Regions from separate parts of the Homo sapiens genome. Here all the other regions are linked to region 5. Evidence: promoter capture Hi-C in 16 types of primary human blood cells and fetal thymus (Javierre and others, 2016). All regions are on one chromosome and are shown on one strand. The core of a region is centred on a gene start or on the middle of the fragment in contact, and the rest is flanking DNA. Distances in the headings are between cores, read along the strand shown.

Evidence for each region. Contacts are between HindIII fragments. The CHiCAGO score rates a contact against its expected background, and 5 or more counts as called.
Region 1: a fragment that was not itself captured here is called in contact with the fragment with the promoter of SLC22A1 in region 5 in 3 of 17 cell types (total CD8 T cells, total CD4 T cells and naive CD8 T cells); the score reaches 5.2 in total CD8 T cells.
Region 2: the fragment with the promoter of PNLDC1 here is called in contact with the fragment with the promoter of SLC22A1 in region 5 in 3 of 17 cell types (neutrophils, M2 macrophages and total B cells); the score reaches 6.5 in neutrophils.
Region 3: a fragment that was not itself captured here is called in contact with the fragment with the promoter of SLC22A1 in region 5 in 1 of 17 cell types (neutrophils); the score reaches 5.2 in neutrophils.
Region 4: a fragment that was not itself captured here is called in contact with the fragment with the promoter of SLC22A1 in region 5 in 1 of 17 cell types (total CD8 T cells); the score reaches 6.3 in total CD8 T cells.
Region 6: a contact is called between a fragment that was not itself captured here and the fragment with the promoter of SLC22A1 in region 5, in 1 of 17 cell types (neutrophils). The highest score is 5.4, in neutrophils.

The regions. Positions count from the first base shown.
Region 1 is chr6:160,434,912-160,437,946 of GRCh38, reverse strand. It overlaps SLC22A3 (solute carrier family 22 member 3), which reads right to left. Exons shown (of 11, transcript NM_021977.4): 6 at 1,070-1,167; 7 at 736-950. Among named protein-coding and RNA genes, the nearest start is that of SLC22A3, 88 kb to the right of the region's middle. The HindIII fragment of the contact is 1,235 bases long and covers 1,043-2,277 here.
Region 2 is chr6:159,798,754-159,801,763 of GRCh38, reverse strand. PNLDC1 (PARN like ribonuclease domain containing exonuclease 1) reads right to left here and starts at 1,488. Exons shown (of 19, transcript NM_001271862.2): 1 at 1,381-1,488; 2 at 935-992; 3 at 578-651. The coding sequence starts at 1,456. The HindIII fragment of the contact is 10,328 bases long and covers 1-3,010 here.
Region 3 is chr6:159,823,066-159,826,380 of GRCh38, reverse strand. No RefSeq gene overlaps it. Among named protein-coding and RNA genes, the nearest start is that of PNLDC1, 24 kb to the right of the region's middle. The HindIII fragment of the contact is 1,375 bases long and covers 681-2,055 here.
Region 4 is chr6:160,490,201-160,493,429 of GRCh38, reverse strand. It overlaps the pseudogene LPAL2. Among named protein-coding and RNA genes, the nearest start is that of SLC22A3, 140 kb to the right of the region's middle. The HindIII fragment of the contact is 705 bases long and covers 986-1,690 here.
Region 5 is chr6:160,119,747-160,123,142 of GRCh38, reverse strand. It overlaps SLC22A1 (solute carrier family 22 member 1), which reads right to left and starts at 1,328. Exons shown (of 11, transcript NM_003057.3): 1 at 797-1,328. The coding sequence starts at 1,207. It overlaps LOC124901452 (a long non-coding RNA gene), which reads left to right and starts at 1,448. Exons shown (of 2, transcript XR_007059842.1): 1 at 1,448-2,301. The HindIII fragment of the contact is 2,683 bases long and covers 1-2,418 here.
Region 6 is chr6:159,769,971-159,772,963 of GRCh38, reverse strand. The region is part of intron 4 of ACAT2 (acetyl-CoA acetyltransferase 2); the gene reads right to left. Among named protein-coding and RNA genes, the nearest start is that of SNORA20, 8.9 kb to the left of the region's middle. The HindIII fragment of the contact is 2,503 bases long and covers 354-2,856 here.

The sequences.
Region 1 (3,035 bases), core at 411-2,910, 310 kb before region 5:
CAGGCTCCTTGTCTGGATTCCAGTCACAGCAATGAACCCTCAGTTCCTGCATGCACAAAGGTGTTTCATACTTCTGGAAACTCTTCTCTAGTTTGGAAACGTCCGTCCTCTCTCTCCCTGATATCTGGCACATTTGAGTCTTCACGCATGTTTAGTTCCCACTGCTGGGAAGCTTTTCTTGAATCCCCTTCTGGATTGATCACTCCTCCCCAATCTATTTTTTTATATTTCTAAATCTTGTAAATAGTTTAATTAGTTTCTAAATCTCACAAATAATTCATGACAATAAGAATCGTGACAATATTAAAGTATCTGTATCCCTTAATAGATTGTGAACCATTCGAAGTCAAGACTGCGTTCTTCTATGTGTAACCTCAGCGTTTAGCATGGTGCCAGCAGCATGGCAGAGGTTCAGGAAATAAGTTAAACATCAGAGATATCACAAAAGTAAGTCACATAAAGATGAGTAACAGAAACCACATCGCTATCAGCTAGATTGGGCACAATATCTATTTCATTCATAAATGATCCTAGCAATTGAGAAAAGAGAATCATCTACAGAACCAATCTCTTACTTCGAAGTTTTTATGCTGATTAAGCAGAAAATGGAGTGACATCACGAAAGACTGTGATTCCATTGCACATTTCCTAAGAACAAGTGGCTCCCTATACTTGATTGTGGATTTAGGTGTTTTCAAGTCCTTTGGCTGCCAAACAGATGTGGGGTAAGATTACCTTCTGGTAAGAACGCAGTGACAAGGCATGCCACCCCTGCCACTATATTGCTTGCCGCAAAGGGGAGGCGTCGTCCAAGGCGCTCAATGGTTAGTAAGATCAAGAGAGCTCCTGGCAGTTCCACCACGCCCGAGATGAAAAAGTCTATATAGAGGTTGCCCCCTATAATTCCCAGGCGCATGACAAGTCCTTGATACACCACTGCGCTTGTGAACCTGTAGCAACATTGAAAGACACCAGAGAACAAGTAAGAGATAACTTCAAGCTGATTTGAAGGAAGGGATGTATTGTAAATTTAACGCAAGCTTTTAAATCCATCACAAGTCAAACTTACCAAGCAAACATAAGAATAAGTGTGCATTTCCTCATTTGGGGAGTTCTCACCAGATCTAAAAAGGATGGATTACTAACTTCCTCATCTGTAACAGTGATCTATATAAGAAAAGCAGATTTCAGTAGCAATAGACAGAAAAAAAAAAAACCTGCATAGTATAGACTTGTCATTAACCAGAATCAAATGATCTTACTGAAGTGACTAGGGGCTTTCATAATATCTTAAAACCTGACAATTAAAACACTTCTGCTCTTGCATTTAGAACACATCAAATTCACAAAGATAGGATTGCTGCACTGAGAATCTGTTCTTAGGATAATTTCAGTACTTTATGTTAAACTGCTCTGTATGTTCTAAATACATATGCACATTTATTACATTGGGGGAAATGAGAGTCAGGGTGGGTGAAGCAAGTGGGATCCAACCAATTAAGGGTTTCTTTATAAACTAAATCCTCAAATCTGACTTTCACAAACAAAATAGAGTAATGTTAAGTTTAAGAGTAAGCACCAAAGGTATTATTTTGCTTTTGCCCATTTATTGTAATCTAACATCTTTTTGATCCAGAAAAATTCAGCTCATCTCTAGCTGGCCATCCAAGAAACTGGTCTTTTCAATTCAATTCAACAAATACTGCTATTGGCCAACTACATACAAAACACTGAAAAAAGCGAAGCTGGAGAGGACACCCCCCAATCCCCACATCCTGCCTCCAGTCTAACATGCGGAAGCATCAGAGCATGATACCCTGCAGTGACCGCAGCTCCAGTTTCCTGTGCTTGTCAGTCTCTTACCTCTGCATGGAGGGCTCTTTGACCTCCTCAGTCCTGATTTTACCTCCCCTGGGAAGCCTTTCCTAGCCTCAGATAGAACTGATGGCTCCCAAATTCTGCCTCTACTCCCCGGACCTCTATCCTAGCACCTGTACAACAGCACTCCCCTGTGGGTCTGGAGCTCTTGGAAGGCGGGAGTGCATTGTCACACCAAGCAAAGTGCCTGGTGTTCAACAACTGTTTGTGTAATGACTGAGTGCTGAAACAAGAAGTCAAGTGCCCTGGTCATATCTGTTCCTCAGTGTCGTCCTGGGTTTCTCTCCTCCTATTAAACAAAAATGCTGGCTACTAAGGACAAGACCGATGCTATCTATTTGTACAACTCCAGATTTGGCCCAGATTGAATGAAAATCTAGGCACATTTTCCCCAAAGCTTTGAGCTAAAGTCTCTCTACCAGTAATCACAGGAATTTGACTTAGAGCATACACACACTGATAGTACCTTGTCAATCACAGATTCTAAACAGTAAATTCAATAGATCAACCAAAGCTTGATATCTTATGCCTATCTTTGCTCCAAGGAAAGTCACACACACACAAAAGTAGACTGCAAAATGAATGCCTTTGGTCACTTTCTTTTCCAAAGTCTTCACAATCCTGTATTTCTTCTATACCAAGACACATTGGTTTTCTACATTTTAACATCTCTTAATTGGAAGGTGTCCTACAACTGAGCTGGTAAGAAAGAAATGTGTCCCAGTTTAAACAACATGGTTTCCTTTACTTAGTGGTACATAAAATGACTATGTGTCTTAAAATCAATAGTGTCTAGAGTCAACAAAACAATAGTTTCCATGACAATCGCCGTGGAAGACTGCTGATGGATTCCACCATCCATGCTTCCCTTCCCTCTTTTGAGAATACGTAGAATTTTAGTTGGGCATATGGCAGCCTAGTGACAGTCATTTTTTCTATCCTCTTTTTCAACTGTGAGTGGCACTGTGATTAAGACCTCAGCAATGAGGTGGTTGTAGGGGTCATGTGTATAAGTTCTAGGTCTCTGCATTTAAAAAGGTAATAACTTGCTGGAAGAAGATGCTGGTGAGCTTCAACCATACCACCTGTGTAGGCGATGGTGGAGATGCAAGATAAATGGAACTCATGGAGTAGAGCTGCCTCACTAGAGCTTGGCT
Region 2 (3,010 bases), core at 239-2,738, 320 kb after region 5:
TAAGAAAAAAAAATCACAGGCCAGGTGTGGTTGCTCACGCTTATAATTCCATCACTTTGAGAGGCAGAGGCAGAAAGATTGCTCGAGCCCAGGAAGTCAAGAACAGCCTGGCCAACATGACGAAAACCCATCTGAACAAAAAATTTAAAAATTAGCTAGGTGTGGTGGTGAGCCTGTAGTCCCAGTTTACTCAGGAGGCTGACGTGCTAGTATCACTTGAGCCCAGGAAGTCTAGGCTGCAGTGAGCTAAGACTATGCTACTGCACTCCAGTCTTGGTGACAGAGCAAGACCCTGTCTCAAAAAATAAAATAAAAATCGCACACACACAGTTTTACTTGAAAGAGTAACAGTGAGTGTTCCTTAATACTGACTTATTTAAGCACGGAAACAATGCTGCTAAATTTGGTTTGCTCCGAAGTGTTGATTTCCATATGTATACAATGGCCCAACACAAAACAAGCATACAAAACGATACTCAATATCCTTGAAAAATCTCAGAGCTGTTTTTACAGTAGGAAATCCAAGGACAATAAAAATACCTTCTTGAAAAACTCTAACAGCTGATATTAAACTCACCAATCTGACAGACTGTAAATTGCTGAACACTCTGACGGGTCTTTAGATACCACTCCGATGGCAAATCAAAAAGACTGTGAACAAACAGGCATCTCATTCCACGAGCAATGACATCCCATCCCGGCACTATGGCCTCCGCGGCAGGACCACCACTCGCAACCGGGGAGGATTTTTTCCTTGTTACAACAACTAGGGAGCACTACCATCATTTAGTGGACAGAAAAAAGCAAGGTCCTCCAACACGTAGGAGCAAGCCACACAAAACGTCCTGCCCCCCAAATGCCAACAGGCTGCTGGCCAGAAACAGTGCTGGTCTGGCCAGGCTCTTATACAGAGGGGACACAGCTTTAGTTTTACCTGATCTGCTGGGGCCCAGACAGGTTAGAACGAAGGCCCGTGAACTCTATGTCCAGACCTGCCAGGAAGGCAAAAAATAGCAGTCCTCGGGTGCAGAACATCGCCAGCACTCCTCACACTGTAGATCTGCAGGCGGCCAAGGCACCCGCGCTCACCTCTGCGCTCAAGAAGCCAAGTGAGGTCAGGAAGGGAAAATGGAGGAACCAAGGCAAGGAGCAGCCAGGCACCTGGGCGCACGGGGCTCTGGCCAACAAGGGACGTGGGGCTCGGAGTGTACTTGCTGCTCAAAGTCCCACCGCCCCGGGGCTGGAGAAGGAAGCCCCCCTGTCCTTCCCGAGGCCCTCTCTGAGGCCCTGTGGCCTGGCAACCGTCCCGCCACCCCCTCCTCAAGCTCGCCCGGGGCAAGGGGCTCTGTCCGGCACAGCCGCGAATCCCAGGCTCTTCACCCACGAAGTCGGCCTCCTGGACGAGCTCCTGCAGCAGAGGGAGGCTCTCCTCGAACTCGTCGGCGCCCACGTCCATGGCCGTGCAGCTCCGCGGAGTCGCCCAGCGCTATCACGTGCTGCCCACGTGCTGCCCACGCGCTTCCGTCGCGCCGCCGGGTCTTAAAGGGCGCACACATGGAAACCAGGCAGCTGCCTCCGCCCCACGTGCCCAGCTTCCCCGTGTGCTGCTGGCGTCGCCCACACCTGCCTGCGGGTGTTTTAATTGTACGATTTGCTACAGAGGTTTGATTGCAATTGCAATCAAAGCCTGTTTACCTGGCTCCTCAGCAATTTCTTTGCAGCCCTTAACGTGAGAATGTCATTTACATGGACTTAGAATGTTAAGAGGCGTGGCAGGAGACGAAGACAGAGTCCAGAAAGGGTGAAATCAGAAAAGCGGAGCAGGAACAACACCGGACGCAACTGCAATAAGCAGATCCTTTGCTGCGGCTCACGGTCTTCTAAATCACCTCTTCCCAACTTCTCCATCACTGCCAGTATGTCTGTCCCCATTCCCTCTCCCACGCCCCTGGACATCTTTTTCCTCATTCTGCTGTCCACCTTACCACTGTCTTCACACCTGCAATCAAACTTTGCAAAGCCTCAAGAACTGCCCATTAAATTGAAGGAATCCTTGGTCCCCAGGGATTATCTCGTGCACTCACTCCTTGCGGAAATCCCTACCTACATCATCACATACATGTGAGCTTAATTTTTACTTTTGTTACTGTTTCCAGTGCAACTAGTCCATGGTCTTCCTTACAGTGTCCTCCCTTGAATTCTAGGCTTCTACTTGAACAGCGTTTTGGAACTATGGTCCTCAAAGTGAGGTGCTCAAATCAATCTTTAAGGTTAGCGGAGAAAACATTACCGTTATACTTTATTTTTTCCTTTTGAGACAGTCTCACTCTGTCACCCAGGCTGGAGTGCAGTGGTGCCATCTCGGCTCTCTGCAATCTCCACCTCCTGAGTTCAAGCGATTCTCCCGCCTCAGCCTCTGAACAGCTGGGATTACAGGCATGCACCACCACGCCCAACTCATTTTTGTTTTTAGTAGAGATAGGGTTAAACCGTATTGGCCAGGCTGGTCTCGAATTCCTGGCCTCAAGTGATCCACCTGCTTCAGCCTCCTAAAGTGGTGGGATTAGAGGTGTGAGGCACTGCATCCGATCTTCAATTATACTTTTAAATGCCTCTCCGGGACATTAATTAAGCAAAAGGGGACTATTAAGCCATTTGATTCTGAAGACCTCTCAGAACAAATCATACTTCATACAGATGTGTTCCATTTAAAATAACACATTGAATACTCAAATTGGCAGAAGTAACATATTTCACTTCTAAACAAACATTTAATTGGGGTATACATTAAAAAAACTGGAAAACAATGCTCTAGAAGCCACCTTAACTGCCTACAGGTTTTTTCTCACATTTATCAAATAGCCAAAAATTAACACCTTAATCAGCTCCTTTCAGAGAACTGCCATGATTCCCATCTACCCAAGCTCAAATTTTAGATTAACTTGCATGCATTTCAAGTTTCATCTCCTATCTAATAAAATGTTCACTTCATGGCAAATTGAGCGCCCAC
Region 3 (3,315 bases), core at 119-2,618, 300 kb after region 5:
AGTGGGCAGGGACTGGGCCAGCCCCAGGCCCTCAGTGGTGCTGCCAGCCCACATGAGCAGGAGGCACCCCGCTCTGGAGAGAAGCTGCATTGTAGGGAAGGCACACTGGGGAGTTAGGGACACAAATCTACCTCTCTACATTATGATAAGCACTTGAAAGTACCAGGGGACAGAGGAGGGCCGATGGCTCTAACCGACGTGAGGAGGCGCAGGAGAGGACGAGAGTCTGCAGACCACCCGGCCCCAGCGCCGGCTCCTGCCTCTCGTCCACCACCACCAGCAGCATCCTCGTAACCCCCTCAGGGTAAACCGCCAAAAACTAGAGTAGCAGTTGCAGTGGCAGCAGCAAGGCCACCCCAGTTTTGCCAAAACTGTCCTGCAACTAACCCACCGTGACAATGCTTGCTTCCCATGTTCAAGTAGTTTTGGGTGGTTTTTAGATTTTTGGTTGTAAGTAAGCGTATTTTTCTGTATTTCACCCATTCCAAGACGCACTTTCCCTCCATTTCAACATCTTTGAGATCAGGGTGTATCTTAGGATGAGGGACAAAAACCTCCCCGGCAGCATTTATCCCTTAGTGGAACACAAAACAGTGGTCACTCTCCAGTGAAGGATGTCTCAGACAACATGAGACATGGTTGCACCAAATCAATCAACTATTTAATTACCACTTGAAGCTTTTGTTTCATGCTTAGAAAGCCCTTCTTCATCCCAAGATTAAATCGTTTTCATTTCCTTTTATATGATTTGCCTTTCTTAACCTTAAATATATGACATGTCTAATTTATTTTGGTGTAAGGACTAAAGAATTGGCTTTTTTTTTCTAAACGGCTCTTTGTCCCAGATTTAATATGGTACCTTTATCACAGCAAAATTCCCAGATGCACTCAGTCTATTTCTTACCTAGATTCTATTACTATGCCAATCTCACAATGTATTAATTATAACTTTACGCCATAGTCTCATCAACATGCAATTACAAAGGCACCAATTTTGTGCACATTAAGAAAACACCAATTAAATTAACACACACCATTGACTGTAAGAAATAACCCAATCTCAACGATGTGAAAATGGTAGAAAATGCACAGCTTGGATCAATGTACTCCCATACGGCAGGTGGGACAAGTCATCTTGGTCACTTATCTTTTTCAGAAGTTTCCTGATTGTTATATTTTCCCAAATAATTTTTTTTTTTTTTTGAGATAGAGTCTCACTCTCTTGCCCAGGCTGGAATGCAGTGGCACGATCTCGGCTCACTGCAACCTTTGCCTCCCGGGTTCAAGCGATTCTCCGGCCTCAGCCTCCTGAGTAGTTGGGAGCACAGGCATGCCCGCGCCTGGCTAATTTTTATTTTTATATTTATTTATTTATTTTTGAGATGGAGTTTCTCTGTTGTTGCCCAGGCTGGAGTGCAATGGTGCGATCTCGGCTCATTGCAACCTCTGCCTCTTGGGTTCATCACGTGATTCTCCTGCCTCAGCCCCCTCAAGTAGCTGGGATTACAGGTGCCCGCCACCATGCCTGGCTAATTTTTTGTATTTTTGTAGAGACAGGGTTTTACCATGTTGGCCAGGCTGGTCTCGAACTCCTGACTGCAGGTGATCCACCCACCTCGGCCTCCCAAAGTGCTGGGATTACAGATGTGAGCCACTCCACCTTGCTTCCAGCTAATTTTTGTATTTTTTGGTGGAGATAGGGGCTCAACATGTTGCCCAGGCTGGTCTCGAACTCCTGACCTCATGTGATCCGCCCACCTCAGCCTACCAGAGTGCTGGGATTACAAACGTGAGCCACCATGCCTGGCCCCAGATAATTTTTAATTTGGCAAGTCACCACCATACAAAAAAATGAGGTTTTAATTAGTCTTACAGTGGATTTTCAGACAAACTTATAGAAAATTACACAAAGGATTTTAGTGGTTAGAAAGTAACAGCCTTTTTTTCCCCTTAGAAAGTATCTCAAAATTTACAACCTCTACCACATACTTCATGCCAAGAAAATTAGTATTGCTGTCTCATGAGCTAAAAAGACCACAGAGAAAGAGAAAAGCTTTCTGTAGTAACAATAAATGATATGAACCTCTGTATCTTTCAGAGAAAAGGAAAGATACTTGCTATGGACTGAATGTTTGTGTTTCCCCCAAATTCCCAGGTTGAAATCCTAACCCCTAAGGGGATGGTCTTAGGTGAGGCCTTTTGGGAGGTGATGAGGTGATGAGGGTGGGGCCCTCTTATTGGATTAGTGCCCTTACAAGAAGAGAAGTGAGAGAGATGTTCGCTGTCTCTGCCACGCCAGGATGCAGCAAGAAGGCAGCCCTCCACAAGCCCAGGAAGAGAGCACTCTCCAGGAGCCAGTTCAGCTGGCGCCAGCTCTCAGAGTTCCCAGCCTCCAGAACTGTGAGAAATAAGATTCTGTTTTTTAAGCCACCCTGTCTATGGTATTTTTGTTACGGCAGCCTGAACTTAGTACCTGAAGGATGTAAAGAGAAAGATTAGCTAATTTTAAGATCATTTAAGGCTATTTCTAGTCACTTTCTTTCTCATACCAAAAATCTCACAGAAATAATTTAAACCACAAACAAGAACCAAAATTGTAAGAACAAGGACATGAAATCACATCACTTCTAAGTGATCAGGTCGTGTGGGTCAGTGAGAACACCCTGGGCTGGGCAGATTCGGAGGCTGCCATTTGTCTTTTCCCTCTGCTGCAGAAGCACATCAGTTACTCAAGGCCATTTTCAAAGCACCTCACCTGAGCAGCAGCAACAAACTCAAATCCCTGTCGAAAAACACAGCAGAGCCTCCAGCCATGGGGAGCACTGGCTTGTGAGGATACTGAGGGCCCCTGCAGGTTCCAGAACTCCACTGCCCACCTGTGCAGGGCCAGGCCAGGGGACACTGCCACACAGCACCAAGTGCTCTAGCAGGGACAGGCAAGAGGCACTCAGACAGGTTGAGCCCCCGACACCTGACAGGTACAGCAGGCAACAGTGACCTAGAACCTAGAGGAGATGTCCACTGAGCTGGGTCAAGTGGTGAGTGGCTCAGAGAAGAGGAAGAGAAACAGTGATCCCAAGGACAGACACCCGTGGGGGACCAGAGACACAGCAGGGCCCCAAATACAGAGAGAAAGGGCTTGTGGACTTGGGGCAGAATCCACAGAAGGAGCTTGGGCAGGAGAGATGACCAGATTTGCCTTCTGGAGCCCACTTATGTCCGTGAGGGCCACAGCAGAAAAGGGAGAAGAGGAGGCAGGCAGGGCTCTCCCAGAACTGAGGAGACCCTGAAACTGTCTAGGTAATGTGAAGGGGG
Region 4 (3,229 bases), core at 89-2,588, 370 kb before region 5:
TTGAGGAACTCTATGTTAGTTCCACCTTTCGCAGTACTGTATGAAGTCCTGTAGAGACAGATAAAGAGAGCTAGACAGATGAAGGTACTCTTGTATGTGTATAAGTGATTCCACAATACACACGTCAAAATCTATACCATGTATTCCAGAGAGATGGATTGGCTAAAGATGGAAGGAGGATATTCTCATCCCTTCTAGGCCACATGTATGTATTATTTCAGTGTTTCTAAGAGGTATTTCCTACTTTAGGTCTTAAAAAAAAAAGTTAAAATCTATTACCTGTTAGAAATGTGCAGAGTGGATGAGAATTTGAGAGCCATTCATGCTTGTGGCAATCATATGGTACCTCTAATGGGAATATTTCAAAGGCACTGGTTATGACCTTGTTACAGCAAAATGGAGAGGGTGCTGGATGTTCCTGCATATTGTCCCACCTCTTGTAACGTGTATTGTTTTGTGATTTTCAGTGGCTTGATCTCGAACTACTGCAGGAATCCGGATTGTTCGGCAGGCCCTTGGTGTTATACGACGGATCCCAATGTCAGGTGGGAGTACTGCAACCTGACACGGTGCTCAGACGATGAAGGGACTGTGTTCGTGCCTCTGACTGTTATCCCAGTTCCAAGCCTAGAGGATTCATTCATACAAGGTAAGAAGTCTGTGGCCAGACATCTCCACGCTTAGACACTAAGAAGAAAAGCCATGGAAACTCCCACTGATGCAGAAGGCTTCATTCTACACAGGTGCTCCAATGTTGATTGAGGATCTGCCATTTTGGAGGAATCCTCAGTGCAGTGTCTGGGGGAGCCAGAGGAGTAATTTTTGGTGCAGCATGAGTGGGCTGTGTCTTTGGATAGGCACAAACCCTCCAGGGTGCTCGACATCACCACTCACTTCATTGTAAAATGAGTTATCTCAGTGTCCAGTCCAAAATTCCTGTTGTAACATGCTGTCAGATATGTGTCTCTTTCCAATGCAGTAAGCTTCTCCAGGGATTTCTTCAAGTAGACAACATTCAGTGCAATCTTCATCATCACAGATTCTCAGAAATGTGTGGCTTTCAAGCCCGTGAATCTTGAGAAACTTAACAGGGCTGCATTAATTCCATGTTGCCCTTGCATCATGGAGCATTACATGAGCTCCCAAGGCTCTATCTTTCAGGCCTTCCTCAGACCTGGGCAAGATTTGCAGGCCTAGGCTTTGAAGTGAGTGATTTCTCAGTGTTCCTGCACCTTTTTCTAATGGAAGTTGTACTTGTGGGGGGTCTGGAGAGAAAGAGTAGGAGACTTCTGCTTTATTGCAATGCAGGATGTGGGGCATGAGAAAATTCCATCTCTCTTCCAATGGGATAAGATTTTGGCCTCCACCCATCCTTATGAAGCAAACTATTTTTGCCTGCAGTCCTAGACGCACAACCGTTTTCTTCCCAATCTGCCAGAAGCCAGAAGCTGAAGGCCTTGGCTCTCGTGATCAATGGTCTAGGGAAACGTGCGAGGTTTCCATGTCTGTCCCCACCTCCGCCCTCAGCAGCCAATCACCATCTACAGTCTGCACTGCCAAATGCGTAGCCCTTTATTCTCTCATGCCCCGTGATCCCCATGAACATTCAGTAGAGATCACTAGAGAGCAGTTTGCACGTGAGCGCAGTTTTCCATAAGAAGCACTCTGAACTGTTGTTTTTCTCTAAGCTTTTACATGAAATATTGGGAAGAACTTACTGCATTTCTAGAATGGTAGGAATCTGTTCTTTTGGTGTTTGTTTGTTTTCTCATGTTCATCTGTGTACAAATAAAAAAAAGAGAATGGTCGTAATTCTCCAAGACTTCTTTCTGGTTTGTGTCATAAATGGCTTCAACTGTTTCCCTGTTCTAGGAGATACACAGCTTAATTTTTCCTGTTTTAATTTTAGCACCGACAGAGCCAAGGCCTTCTGTTCAGGAGTGCTACCATGGAAATGGACAGAGTTATCGAGGCACATATTTCACCACTGTCACAGGAAGAACCTGCCAAGCTTGGTCATCTATGACACCACACCAGCACAGTAGGACCCCGGAACAGTACCCAAATGCATACGTTTTGTTCTTTACCATAAGAGAAGGAAGGGCTGACTAAAGTTTCTGTTAGAAGAGTCATGCTTCTAGCTAAGTGCTCAGGACTCAACTTGTTTCAGATGTAGAGGTCATAGCAAAATGTCTCAGGAATATTGCCTTGAAGCAAAGGGTCTCAGAGATAGGATATGTTAATCTGGCTCTCCTTCCTCATAGCTTTATGCATCAGGAGGCTATCTGAAGGCGAGGTGATCACATTACGAAAACTGTCAGGACCACAAATAACCAAACACTTAAGAGTGTTTTCTACAACACACAGTAAGAGTCAATGCAGCCTTTCCACCTTGGAATTCTATCATTCTAACCTCTGATTCCTGAAGTAAAAGTTGTGTTGGCCCTTTCTGTCTTGGCTCACGAGGAAGGAGTATGTGCATATCTATGGAGAGTCAAAGCTTTCTATTTCTACGTCTATTCCAATAGGTAGAAACAAACTCGATCCCAAGCAGCAATGGTCTCAGATATGAGGTGCCAGAAAGAGAAGGGCAAAGGCAGGAAGGCTGATGAGAGACAGCAAAGAGACAGATGCTGAAAAATAAAAGGGGTGGGCAGATGGACAGAAGCCTGGGTCTGACCAACTCATGGCCAGTCTCTCTCCTCTAAGTGGCTACAAAGGACATGGAAAAATGGTTTCCACACGTAAAACAACAGATGGTAGAGGACTGAGAGAATTGTGACAAGGAGTACAATGAGATCAACTCCACAGATGCCCTCCTTGGCTTTCTTCTTGGGACCGTTCCTGCACGGAAGAGCAGGGAGACGGAACCCATGTGGACTGTATCCATCTTGCTGAATGGAGGAGAGATTGGAGTTTGGGATTTTCCGGTACCTAGGATTTTCTAGGCAAGCTAAGAATGAGAACGGATTTGTGGGGCAAAGGAGCTCTAGGAATACGTATAGAAATCTCTTCAAGTCATTGACTAAACATAAAGTTTTTTGTGCACAGAAAAATGTTCCACAAGAGACTAGGGCAAAGGACATCTACTGAGGAACAGCAACTACAAGGCAACAGTGAGCTCAATAAAGCTCACAGAGCTGAGATAGCACTGGGGGCGGTTGGAGTTCTGACCAGCCAGAGGAGAGTGACCACACTGAACATCTTGGGCATTCAGCAGAGACCCCAG
Region 5 (3,396 bases), core at 79-2,578:
ACTTGTTACCGTGCAATAGTTTCAAAAGGGCTCATGATGGGAAAAAAATGTGGTGACACTTTTTACTAAAGGATTCTCAAAGCAAAATGCTCAAATAACCAAGTAAACTACTCAAGCAAGGCCCTTTTGAGGCCATCGCCCTATCCCATGGGCCCCATCGGACTGCACGGTGTGACTCAGTTTGGATTTGCTCAGTGCTTTCACAGATCCCAGCTGAAGCTCACACCCCTATGAGGCAGCCGTCATCATCCCTGGTTGACTGATGAGGAAATGAGGCTTAGAGAGGCAGTGACTTACCCAGTGATGCTCAGCTAATAAGGGGCACAGCTGGGATTCCACCAAATATTCTCACTTCCAAGCCAGGGCAATTCCAGGCCACCTCAACACCATCATTGAGGTCAATCGTCATCACTCTTGAGCAGAAGGAGGGGGCCCACAGTACTATTGGTGGGGAAGCGGGACCCAGAGCAAGTTGATAGTTCTGGGAGAAGCCAGTGGGGCAGGCAGAGAGGCTCCTGGTCTCCCAGTCAACTCCCATTCAAGCAACCTGGCAACCTGGCCCCCGACTTGTGCTAGCTGTTCTCTCCTGCCTCAGCTTCCTCCTCAAAGACCCAGAGTTTGTGGTGGATTAAACTAGAGAAGAGAATGCCCCGTGCCTGGGACACAGCCAGACACCCACGAACTGCACAATAAACATAGCCCCCTACCTCTTTCCTGATATGGAACTGAACTTCATAGGATTTGCTTTATATTTCTCCCTGTCCCAGGAACTCCCATGTTACAGAGGCTTTTTTACCTCAGTGACGATGGAAGAGCCGGGCGTGTCATACACCCAGCCATCCTGGCAGGGACCCAGCGGCAGGTGGCTCCTGTTGGTGGCCAGGCTAGCCAGGGGGTCTACACAGCTGAGGGCGCTCTGGTTCCAGTCCACTTCATAGCGCCTGCACTGGCCAAGGAAGGCCTCGCCCGCGGGCCCCAGGCCTGGCACTGTATAGTTCAGCTCCTCCGCAGGGCTCCAGCCACAGCGCTGGCTCAGCTCAGCCACCCCAGGACTCTGGCAGTGGTGGTCAGGTGTGAAACCCAGGAAGACGATGCCCACACAGATGGGCGCAAAGGCAGCCGACAGCAGGCATAAGATGAGGAAGGCTTGCTTCTGGAACCAGCCAGACTCCCCAACCTGCTCCAGAATGTCATCCACGGTGGGCATGATGGCTCAGCATGCTCATGGCCGTGGCCAGACCTGCTCTGGGCTGCAGTGGCCAGGTGCAATGTCTCCCTCAGAGATCTTTGAAAAGGAGTGGTTTGAAATCAGTTTGCTGTCCAAGTGTGAAACATCTGGAAGGCAACCAAGTAGAAATAATCTTTTACCCTATGGTGCTGGTTTCAGGAAAAGGAAGAATGCACGTGGCCATCTGATCAAATCGTTTGCTTTGCCCGGGAGCGAGTCAGTGGGGTCTAAGCCCGAAGAGAATTGAAGTTCAGCCACAGAGCAAGAAGAGGGCAGGAGAGCAGGCCGTGCAAACCTCCTAGTAGCTCCCTCAGGGCTCTTCCAAAAAGAATATCTACTTGTTTTCTAGATGTGATGGTATGAGGCAAGTATTGGGTGACAGCCAGGTACTAGATACTGTATTCGGCTAATTAGTTCTGTGATACCATTTAAGTATTTTTTTTAGTTTTTTTTTCCCATAGGTTTTGAGGGAACAGGTATTATTTGGTTACATGAGCAGGTTCTTTAGTGGTGATTTGTGAGATTTTGGTGCATCCATCTCCCAAGCAGTATACACTGCACCCAATTTGGGTGTTTTAAGCTCCACCTCTTCATTTGTGTGTGTGTATACATGTCTAGATGTGTTTACTTGTATGTACACTTACTGTTATATGTTGTGTCTACCAAATTGGCTTATAAGTAAAAGAGTGTTCATAAATTAAGTAAATAAGTCTAAGCAATTTTCAAATTCACTTAAGTATGACTTTGCTAAATAGGCTGTCTTTTAAATTATCAGTAAAATGAAAATAGAAATGTCTTCAAAATATAGACATGGTCTAAATTATGCAAGTCAGAAACTAGGTTGACTAAATGCTTTAAGGTCATAAACTGCTTTGGCTTTTGAAAATTGTTCAACTTTCCTGCTTTGCAGTTTGGTAGGGCCTGCCCTAGCTATGCTGGAAATAGTTAGACCTCATCTGCACCTAAGTACGTAACTAAAATAACTTACTGGGTATTTCACCAAAATTAACAATTACTAAGAGCTACCATTATAACATGTAGTGATGACTACTGAAAACAGATCTACACGTGAGGTGAGTAAGGAGAGTAAAATGTATCATTAGTAAAATAATATAAGAAGGCATGGGAATGTAAATTTTTGCCTAGTTCAGAGGGTTAAATGATTGTTTTAAATTATATAAGATAAAGCTTAAGGTTCAAACAAGTTATGGAAGGTTTGTAAAAAATTAATCTTGTAAAAGGAATCCTGTGTGTAAACATATTGACTACACTAAAAAGGATATTATTTGGTTTTCCATAAGTTGAACAATGGAATACAAGCACAACAAGGTTTTCTTGAAGCACTTACATGCTGTTTAACAAAAAAAATTTGTAAAAGGTTATAAAAGATTTATAACAATCTCAGTTCATGATCAAACTGATTAAGATTGGATGGATTTCTCTGTAAGGTTTTATTTTTTTTAATTGGGGTTGACATTAATAGACTAATGTAAGGGTAAAATTTGGCTTTCACTTGAACAAGATTTTCATGCAATGAAAGATTTTGTTTTCTTTGTGAATAAGCTACTGACACAAGAAGGGAAGGACAAGAGATCAACAGGACTCCAGGGTCAATAGGGCTCCATAGCTGAGGGGAAGGGAGCTCAGCAGCCTGACATGCTGGCGAAAGGGTAAAAGTTCTTACCAGTCAGACTTTTGGTTTCTCTCTCTGTGCAAACTGGTTGCAGGAACAATAAAAAAATCACTATATTCTCTGCCCCTCCATGAATTCAACTGGCCATTTGGCATGGCTAAAGTTGGATAATAAGAGACTTAAAAGGACTTCTTAAAAAGGAGTGCGATGGTTAAAAGTTAGATTGTTTGGAAAATTAGGTCTTCCCTCTTAGTGACTGAAGGTTTTTGCTTTGAGTCATTTAAATGAATGACTTATAGTAACCAAAAATTCTGTTAAGTGTTTTGAGCCTTTACAGCTTCAAAATTTTCTTTCCTAACCCCTGAGTTTTGGATGCTACAGAAGACACCTGGAGCATCGAAAGGGAGAGGTAAACAGGGTTATTTGACAAGTTTAGTTACATAGGATTACCAAAATAAGGTGTTTGATCTTCAGGTTATATTTTAGTGAAAAATGTTAATGTGTGTTTCAAAATTGTATGGGATTTCTAGATTTC
Region 6 (2,993 bases), core at 356-2,855, 350 kb after region 5:
GGGGTTGCAGTGAGCCAAGATTGAGCCACTGCACTCCAATCTGGGTGCCAGAGTGAGACCCGTCTCCACACACACACACAAAAAAGTTATTGCTTTGCTTTCTATGTCTTGTCTTTACTTATCAAGCTGTTTTTCTTTCTTTTTTTTTTTTTTTGTTGGATGATGTCTCACTATGTTGACCAGGCTGGAGTGCAGCAGCTACTAACAGGCAAAATCAACCATAGTATACTATACAACCTCAAACTGCTGGCCTCAAGTGATCCTCCCACCACAGCCTCCCTAGTAGCTGGGACTATAGGCACCTGCCACTGCACCCTGTAAAAGCTATTCTCTTATATATACTTCTAGAAGCTTTACATTTTTTGCTTTTATTTTTAAATCCACGATTTATCTCAAATTAGCTTTTATATAGGGTGTGAGGTAGGGATCTAGGTTCATCTTTCCCATGTGAGTAATCTGTTATTCCAGCACCATTTGTTGAAAAGACTTTAATTTCTCCATTTCATTCCATTGATGCCTTTGTTGAAAACAAGCATAAGTCTGGGTCTATTTCTGAACTCTGTTCTCTTTCTCTGTCCTTATGCCAAAACCACATTGTCTTGTTTACAACAGCTTTATAGGTAATGTTAAAATCAGAGCATGTAAGTGCTATTTTCTGACTTCAAAATTGTTTTGGCTATTCTGAGTGCTTTGCATTTTATACAGTATTTATTTACACTATTTATTTATTTATTTAGAGATGGAGTTTCATTCTTGTTGCCCAGGCTGGAGTGCAATGGTGCAATATCTCAGCTTACTGCAACCTCCGCCTCTTAGGTTCAAGCAAGTCTCCTCCCTTGGCCTCCAGAGTAGCTGGGACTACAGGCACCTGCTGCAACACCTGGCTAATTTTTTGTAGTTTTAGTAGAGATGGGGTTTCACCGTGTTAGCCAGGATGGTCTCAATCTCCTGACCTCATGATCCGCCCGCCTCGGCCTCCCAAAGTGCTAGGATTACAGGCGTGAGCCACCGCGCCCGGCTGGAAGCTATTCTTTTGTTGTTGTTGTTGTTGTTGTGTCACTATGTTAACCAGACTGGAATGCAGTAGATACTCACAGGTGCAATCATAGTAGACTATGATAGCATTGCCCAGGCTAGACTCAAACTCTTGGACTCAAGCAATCTCTTGCCTCAGCTCTTGAGTAGGTGGGACTACAGGCACATACCACCATGCCTGGCTCCTTTAGTATTTCTTGTAGTGTAGGTGTGCAGGCAATTCATTTTCCTTCATCTAAAAATGGCTCTTCACTTTCACTCTTGTTTTTTTTTTTTTTGAGACAGAGTCTCACTCTGTTGCCCAGACTGGAGTGCAGTGGCATGATCTTTTTTTAACTTTTTGCTACAATTTGCTAAGGTGTAATTTTTCCCTTGTCTATCTTGGTCTTTGAACTTCTTTTCACACCAAATGTGGAAATTTTCTTCAGTTTTTTTCTGCCCCATTCTCTCTCTTCCTTATGTATGAGATTCCTATTCCATGCATGCTAGTCCTATTTATTTTGTCCTGCAGACCACCAAGGCTCTGTTCATTTATATTTTATTTTTTTGAGACGGAGTTTCATTCTTGTTGCTCAGGCTGGAGTGCAATGGCGTGATCTCAGCTCAACGCAACCTCCGCCTCCCAGGTTCAAGCGATTCTCCTGCCTCAGCCTCCCGAGTAGCTGGGATTACAGGCATGCGCCACCAGCCTGGCTAATTTTGTATTTTTAGTAGAGATGGAGTTTCTCCATGTTGGTCATGTGGGTCTCAAACTCCCGACCTCAGGTGATCTGCCTGCATTGACCTCCCAAAGTGCTGGGATTACAGGCATGAGCCACCACACCTGGCCTATTTTTTAATTTAATTTAATTTAATTTAATTTTTTGAGACAGAGTTTTGTTTGTTACCCAGGCTGGAGCGCAATGGTGTGATCTCAGCTTGCTGCAACCTCCACCTCCTGGGTTCAAGCTATTCTTCTGCCTCAGCCTCCCAAGTAGTTGGGATTACAGGCATGGGCCACCACATCCAGCTCATTTTTGTATTTTTAGTAGAGACAGGGTTTCCCCATGTTGGCCAGGCTGGTCTTGAACTCCTGACCTCAGATGATCTACCCGGCTTGGCCTCCCAAAGTGCTGGGATTACAAGCGTGAGCTACCGTGCCTGGCCTGTTCATTTATTCTTCATTATTTTTCTCTGTGTTCTTCAGGTCGTGTATATGATCTATCTTCAAACTTCCTGACCCTTTTTCTTCTGTCTCCAAGATGCTGTTAAGGCCATTCAGAATTTTTTTTTCTTTTTTTTTAGAGATGAGGTCTAACTATGTTGCTCAGCCTAGTCTCAAACCCCCAGCCTCAAGTGATCCTCCCACCTCAGCCTCCCAAGGTGCTGGGATTACAGGTGCGAGCCACCATGCCCGGCCCCATCCCAGTGAATTCTTAATTTCAGATTGTGTACTTTGCAAGTTCTAGAATTTCTATTTGGTTCTTGTTTATATTTTTTCCTTTTACTCCTGAGATGTCCACATCTATTCCTCTATGAAGATTATATTTTCCTTTGTATCTTTAAACATATGTAAAATAGAGCCTTTAAGATCCTCATCTGATAATTCTAGTATTGCAGGGTCTGTTGACTGTTGTGGTTTTTTTCCACCCTGGTTGTAAGCTATATTTTCCTAATTCTTTGTGTATCTAGAAAGTTCTCATTGCATGCTGAACATTATAGTTGCTACATAACTGGACATAGAGATTTTATTATCTTTAGAGAATATATTGAGTTTTGTTTCCACAAGCAGTCAAAATACTGGCAAATCACCTTGATCCTTTTGAGGCTTGTTTTTAAGCTTATTAGTTTGGGTCTAGAGTAGCTTTTACTCTATGGCTTTGGCCCTACCCCTAAACTGTGGTCTTTCTGAGATGTCAATGGAGTGTCCAAGGAGTTCAGTAAGGTTTCCACTCGCTTGTCCAGAACTTTTATCTCCT